Linked DNA regions of Homo sapiens: region 2 is linked to region 1. The links are contacts of gene promoters, found by promoter capture Hi-C in blood cells and fetal thymus (Javierre and others, 2016). All regions are on one chromosome and are shown on one strand. The core of a region is centred on a gene start or on the middle of the fragment in contact, and the rest is flanking DNA. Distances in the headings are between cores, read along the strand shown. Region 1 holds the start of ARPC1A (actin related protein 2/3 complex subunit 1A). Region 2 holds the start of ZNF394 (zinc finger protein 394).

What was found. Contacts are between HindIII fragments. The CHiCAGO score rates a contact against its expected background, and 5 or more counts as called.
Region 2: a contact is called between the fragment with the promoter of ZNF394 here and the fragment with the promoter of ARPC1A in region 1, in 1 of 17 cell types (neutrophils). The highest score is 5.5, in neutrophils.

Annotation. Positions count from the first base shown.
Region 1 is chr7:99,324,079-99,327,341 of GRCh38, forward strand. It overlaps ARPC1A (actin related protein 2/3 complex subunit 1A), which reads left to right and starts at 1,820. Exons shown (of 10, transcript NM_006409.4): 1 at 1,820-1,926. LOC105375421 (a long non-coding RNA gene) reads right to left here and starts at 1,730. Exons shown (of 4, transcript XR_927798.3): 1 at 1,436-1,730. RefSeq lists an enhancer at 1,386-1,945 and a silencer at 1,921-2,100. The HindIII fragment of the contact is 5,893 bases long and covers 1-3,263 here.
Region 2 is chr7:99,498,743-99,502,005 of GRCh38, forward strand. It overlaps ZNF394 (zinc finger protein 394), which reads right to left and starts at 1,539. Exons shown (of 3, transcript NM_032164.4): 1 at 896-1,539; 2 at 1-100. The coding sequence starts at 1,351. RefSeq lists enhancers at 1-647, 870-1,149. The HindIII fragment of the contact is 23,896 bases long and covers 1-3,263 here.

The sequences.
Region 1 (3,263 bases), core at 570-3,069:
TAATGAGCATGCAACCTAGATCCCTCGCATATGCAGTTCACAATAGGGTTCACTTTCCTATGAGACTCTAATGCCCCCACTGATTGGACAGGAGGCAGAGCTCAGGCCGTAATGCCAGAGATGGGGAGCGGCTGTAAATACAGATGACACTTCGTTGGCTCGCCCTGCTCACCTCATGTGCCAATGGGTTCCTAACAGGCAACAGACCAACACCCGTCAGCAGCCAAGGAGTTGGGGAACTCTGCACTAACTCCAAAGAACATAGCGGGTCTGGCAGGGCATGGTGGCTCACGCCTGTAACCCTAGCACTTTGGGAGGCTGAGGCAGGCGGGATCACCTGAAGTCAGGAGTTCGACACCAGCGTCGCCAACATTGCAAAACCCCGTCTATACTAAAAATACAAAAATTAGCCGGGCATGGTGGCGCGCAGCTGTAGTCCCAGCTACTCGGGAGGCTGAGGCAGGAGAATCGCTTGAACCCGGGAGGCGGAGGTTACAGTGAGCCGAGATCGCGCCACTGCACTCCAGCTTGGGCGACAGAGAAAGGCTCCGTCTCAAAAAGATCACAGCGGGTCTGAAATTGAGAGTTTGACAAGTATACCTACATAAACCTCACCTTACAATACCAAAGGGAAGGAGACAAGCCCTTGGTTGGCCTGGCATGGCGCTGGGCGGCGGCGGGGGGGAGCTCACATCGCTTTGGGAAGCAGAGGCTAGAGGATTGCTTGAGCCCAGGGGTTCAAGACCAGCCTGGACAACATAGGAAAACCTCATCTTTACAAAAAATATAAAAATTAGCCAGGCACAGTGGCTCACACCTGTAATCTGAGGGCTTTGAGAGGCCAAAGAGGGACGATCGCTTGAGCCCAGGAGTTCAAGACCAGCCTAAGCAACACAGCAAGACCCTGTCTCTACCAAAAAATAAAAATTAGCCAGGCGTGGTGGTGTGCACTTGTAGTCCCAGCTCCACGGGGGGCTGAGGCGGGAGGATCGCTTGAGCCCAGGGGTTCCAGGCTGCAGTTAGCTATGATCGCGCCACTGCACTCCAGCCTGGGCTACAGGTTGAGAACCTGTCTAAAAAAAAAGAAAAAAGAAAAGCTCTCGATTAGCCCCATCTGTGGGGGCTGGGGATGCTCCAGAATTTCTAGGGTTCAAGGGCAGCAGCCTGATTGCAGGTGGGGATCAGGGCATTTCTTGGAGGCTGCATCTGCGGGGCAGGCTCTGTCCTCTGTGAATTGGGGGCCTTGCCAAGTTCCCCCAACCCTTTTATCCCTGCTGCGCCATCTTGGGAGCAGGGAACTGCTTGGGAGCAGGGGATTCTGTCCCAGGAAGGGTCGAGAAAGTTCCTGGGGGGCTTCAGGGGCTTTCCACAGAGGGAGCACGGCGGGGGCGGAGGCTCCCTGCAGGGAGCAGCGCTGAGGTAGACTGGCTCTGACCTTGGCTCTCTGAAGGGAGAAAAACTTAATCGTTCTTCAGGTCCAAGAGCTCCAAAGACCCCCAATCCTCAGTAACTCATCTCCTGACAAAAGACCTTGCGAAACTGCCAAAGCGCCACACTTCGGCTCGCGATTGTGAGGAAATTGGTTGAGGAACGGAGTGGGACGCCCATGCCGCTTCGCCAGCACTTGCCAGGCGTTCCGTGGGGCAGCATCTCCTCTGAAGGGCCGCCGACAGTACCACGCCAATGGAACGGCGTACCCTCCTCCACTGCAGCCTGCCTAACCCCGGACTGCGCGCCCGAGCTGTGCGCATGCGCGGACCGTCCGCGCGGTCGCAACGCGCAGGCGCCGTGTCCACTTCCGGGATCTGTCAGCCGCTCCCTCTGGGCTTCCGTCCTCCGCCCGCGCCCGACGGAGCCTGTTCGCGTCGACTGCCCAGAGTCCGCGAATCCTCCGCTCCGAGCCCGTCCGGACTCCCCCGATCCCAGGTAACGGCCAGCAGGGGCGAGCGTCTCACCCTGTCGGCCTCTCTTGTCCAGGCCTGGCGCCGGACTTGCCGCGGGGGCAGTGAGACGGGGGCTCAGGCCGCGGGGCCCCGAGGCTGAGGCGCGGCCGGGTCTCCCTGCCGGGGCCTCCTGAGGGGGCGGGGATCCCCTTTCTCCGTGGATCCCCTGCAGCTTTTCTCAGGATGTTCGAGCTCCTAGCCGCCTCCGATGCCCGAATTAACGGCCCCTTCTGCGCCCCCAGGGTCCTACTTGCACCTCTGCTGGGGGCATTTGTCACCGTCTCTAAAATTGTGTCAAGTAGGAGGATCTCCCGTAATCGAGCGACCCGCGGGACTATTCATCTCTTTAGTGTCTAGAGTCGATCCCTGCATACAGTAGGCGCCCATAGGATGTTTGCCTGCTCTCTAGGGCAGCCCTCAATCCTTCGGTTAATGGGGAACCTTCTCGATCTCGAGAAAAACCTTCTCCCGAGTTCTTTTAAGATTTCCCTGCATGAGTACCGCCTTCCCCCAAGTCAAAATTGCACCCTTCTCGGCGCTCTTATTCATTTAGTGGAATCTTTTATGCCAGTCCTGGCACCACCACTTTGTTGAGTGATCCTGGGAAGATGCTTCTCTGCGCCTGTTTCCTCATCTGCAATAAAAAGATTCTTACCGTTTTGCTAAGAATCAAGTGAGCTTATTTGCATAAATTGCTTAGAATAGTTCCTGGCCGAGAGTAGGTGATCAATAAATATTAGCTATTATTACTGCTTCTGGGCATTCTATGCATATCCGTCTTCCTTTCCTTTTCTATCTCCTCCACTCTCCCCAAACACCAACCCTCCAGACTTGAAGACCAGAATGGTGTCAGCCTTATTTATGTTTCTAGCCCCATCCCGGTATTTACAACACTGCTGGGAACATGATAGGCACTTAATCAGTTATAGCTTAGAATCTTTGATTATAAAGCCATCTGTTCTCCTGCAGCTTTGGAACCTTCTGTCTATGTCAACTCGTAGCTTAAATTGCCGAGATTATCTTAGTTCTGCCCTCTCTCCTCAATTTTATCTAGTCTTGTGGTTTCACATAGGGCCTGGGTTTTCAGGTATCTAAAAACAGAGGAGGGGCATCAGTCAGGAAGGTGTTTTTGTCCTGTTAGGGAGTGGGTAACTGTGGTTGTTGTCTTCCTTTTTTTTTTTTTTCCTGCAGCCTCGACCTCCTGGGCTTAACAGATCCTCCCACCTCAGCCTCCTGAGTAGCTGGGACTACAGGCGTGTGCCACCACACTGGGCTAATTTTCATTTATTTTTATTTACTTATTTTTGGAGATAGAGTCTC
Region 2 (3,263 bases), core at 289-2,788, 170 kb after region 1:
TCTGCGCACTCTCTCTGCAGAAGTCCCTCCGTGCTGGGTCCAGGCGCTCCCACTCCTCCCAGGTTAGAGACACAGCCGTGTCCTCGAAAGTCACCATCCCCTGGAACAACACAAGAGCCCCATTCAGTACCTGCTGTCCCTGTACAGCACTAACACTCTTCTTGAGTCTTGTACCGACAAGGGAGTTTGGAGAGATCAGAGATAGAGGCTGACATTCTCTTGTAATCCTGAAAAGCCTTTCTGTGGACTATTTACACTAATTTTGGAGGTAGGTAGGAGCAAAATATTTCTTTAACTTATATCACTGTGATGTATGGGAATGGAAATATGATACAGATTAAAAGTAAACAAGGCCGGGCGCGGTGGCTCACGCCTGTAATCCCAGCATTTTGGGAGGCCGAGGCGGGCGGATCACCTGAGGTCAGGAGTTCGAGACCAGCCTGGCCAACACAGTGAAACCCCGTCTCTACTAAAAATACAAAAATTAGCCGGGCGTGGTGGCGGGCGCCTGTAATCCCAGCTACTCGGGAGACTGAGGCAGGAGAATCGCTTGAACCCGGGAGTCAGAGGTTGCAGCGAGCCGAGATCGCGCCATTGCACTCCAGCCTGGGCAACAAGAGTGAAACTCCATCTCAAACAACAGCAAGAACAACAAGAAAAAAAAAAAAAAGAAAAGAAAAAGAAAGAAAACCAGTAATCCGTGTTCGCTTTATGCTGAGGTCTATAACAAGTCATTTCCTGGATGGATCTGTCACTGTGGCCTACAGAAAGGAAGTCCATACACACCCCAATGTTCACACGAAATGTAATAAGGAAGTAAGTTCCGAAACGCAGAGCACCCCTAAACGCCTATTTTCCACACTCCCACCTCCAGAACAGGCCTTTCGCTTCTCACCTGGGATGAGGTTCCATCGAGCGCTCGCTGCAGAGCCCGCACCACGGCCACCGCCTCCTCCCCGCTCTCTGGGCAGTGCTCTCGCACCCAGGCTTGAAGCTCCTCGGGCAGGATGGTGAGGAACTGCTCCAGCACCAGCAGCTCCAGGATCTGCTCCTTGGAGAGCAGCTCGGGTCTCAGCCACCGACGACAGAGTTCTCGGAGCCGGCTCAGCGCCTCTTCCGGTCCAGCCACCTCCTGGTAACGCAGCTGCCTAAAGTGCAGTCGAGAAGTTTCGGGGTCCGGCGAAGCCGCGGGATAGTTGGGCTCCCAACTTCCGGGTGAGTCTTCCTCCACTTTCACGGGCAAAAGTCCGTCGCGTTGGGACGGCGCCGCGTCCTTGGACCTCGCAGCCATCACCCAGGGTCCCAACTCGGCGTCACTGCCGCGCCTCTGGGCGGTCAAGCTGGAATTCATCTTTCTCCGGCATGTGCTGCCCTTCCTGGAGTCTTCTTTTCAGGTGAAGAAAGAGCAAACCCAAGGAACTCATCAGCCGTCAACACCCTCCGGTCCCAAACACCGGGCCCCACCACACCAGGCCCCTCTCCACACTCTCCTTTCCTCAGCTTTGCGCCTACAACTCTCTCGGTCAAACAACCGAAAACATCCCGTGCCGGAAGCGCGTCATCGAGGCCTTGCGGCACCTTTCCCTGCATTTCCGGGGCCTCTCTAGGCGCCTGATGGGGTGAGGTGCATCTCGCTGGTTTATCGTCCTAGCCCCGCCCGACGCAGAGGGTCTTGACGGTTTCCCGCATCCCGAGGAAATACGGGCGTCCGAGCCGGTGGCCGAGCTCCGGCAAGGGCGGGAACCTTCAGGATTAAATAGACAGGGTCTGGCTCTGTCGCCCAGGCTGGACTGCAGTGGCGCGATTTCGGCTCACTGCAACTTCTGTCTCCCGGGTTCAAGCAATTCTCCAGCTTCAGCCTCCCAAGTATCTAGGACTACAGGTGCGCGCGACCACGCCCGGTTTATTAATTTTTCTGTGGGGATGGGGTTTCATTATATTGCCCAGGTTGGACAAAGTTGTTTTTTTTTCTTTTTTCAGGCGGACTCTCGCTCTGTCGCCAGGCTGTCTTAGCCTCCTGAGTAGCTTGGACTACAGGCGCGCGCCACCATGCCCGGCTACTTTCTGTATTTTAGTAGAGATGGGGTTTCACCATGTTGGTCAGGCTGGTCTGGAACTCCTGACCTCGTGATCCGCCTGCCCCGGCCTCCCAAAGTGCTGGATTACAGGCGTGAGCCGCTGCGCCCAGTTGGAAAAAGTTTTGTTTTTTTTTTAAAACTAAGTGCTTCCATGTACATCAGATGTTAACGACTTTGATCCTAACAAACAAACAAAAAAGATGAGGAAATTGAGGCTCAAAGATGTGTCCTGGCCTGGCTCAGTGGCGTATGCCTGTAATCCCAGCATTTTGGGAGGCTGAGGGGGGAAGATCGCTTGAAGCCAAGAATTGGAGACCCCAATGTCTACAAAAAATAAAAAATTAGCTGGGTGTGGTGGTGCACACCTGTAGTCCCAGTGAGAGGTGAAGCTAGTTGGACTTCCTGGGTCCAGTGGGGACTTGGACAACTTTTCTGTCTTACAAGAGGTTTGTAAAAATGCACCAATCAGCGCTCTGTAGCTAGCAAGAGGTTTGTAAAATGCACCAATCAGCGCTCTGTAAAATGGACCAATCAGCAGGATTCTAAAAGCAGCCAATCGCAGGGAGGATGGAAAAAAGGGCGTTCTGATACGACAGAAACGGACATGGGAGGGGACAAATAAGAGACTAAAAGCTCCCACCCCAGTCAGCGGAGGCAACCGGCTGGAGTGCTCTGCCATGCTGTGGAAGGTTTGTTCTTTCGCTCTTCACAATAAATCTTGCTGCTACTCACTCTTTGGGTCCGTGCCATCTTTAAGAGCTGTAACACAGTGAAGGTCGGAGGCTGCATTCTTGAAGTCAGCGAGAGGATGAACCCACTGGAAGGAACCAACTCAGGATACACCACTTACTTGGGAGGCTGAGGTGGGAGGATCCTTTGAGCCCAGGAGGTAAAGACTGCAGTGAGATATGATCGCACCAGTGCACTCCAGCCTGGGTGACAGAGCAAGACTCTGTCTCTAAAACAAAGTGTCTTGGTTGATGTCAAGCTGCTGGTGATTTGCAACTTGCATAAAATGAGACGATCGCTTGAGACCAGGAGTTCCAGGCCAGCCTGAGCAACATAGAGAGGATGTGTCTCCATATAAAAATAAAAAAATTTTTTTTTGAGAGGGAGTATCGCTCGGGTTCAAGCGATTCTCCTATCTCAGCCTCCCAAGTAGCTGGGATTACAGGCGCGTGCCAC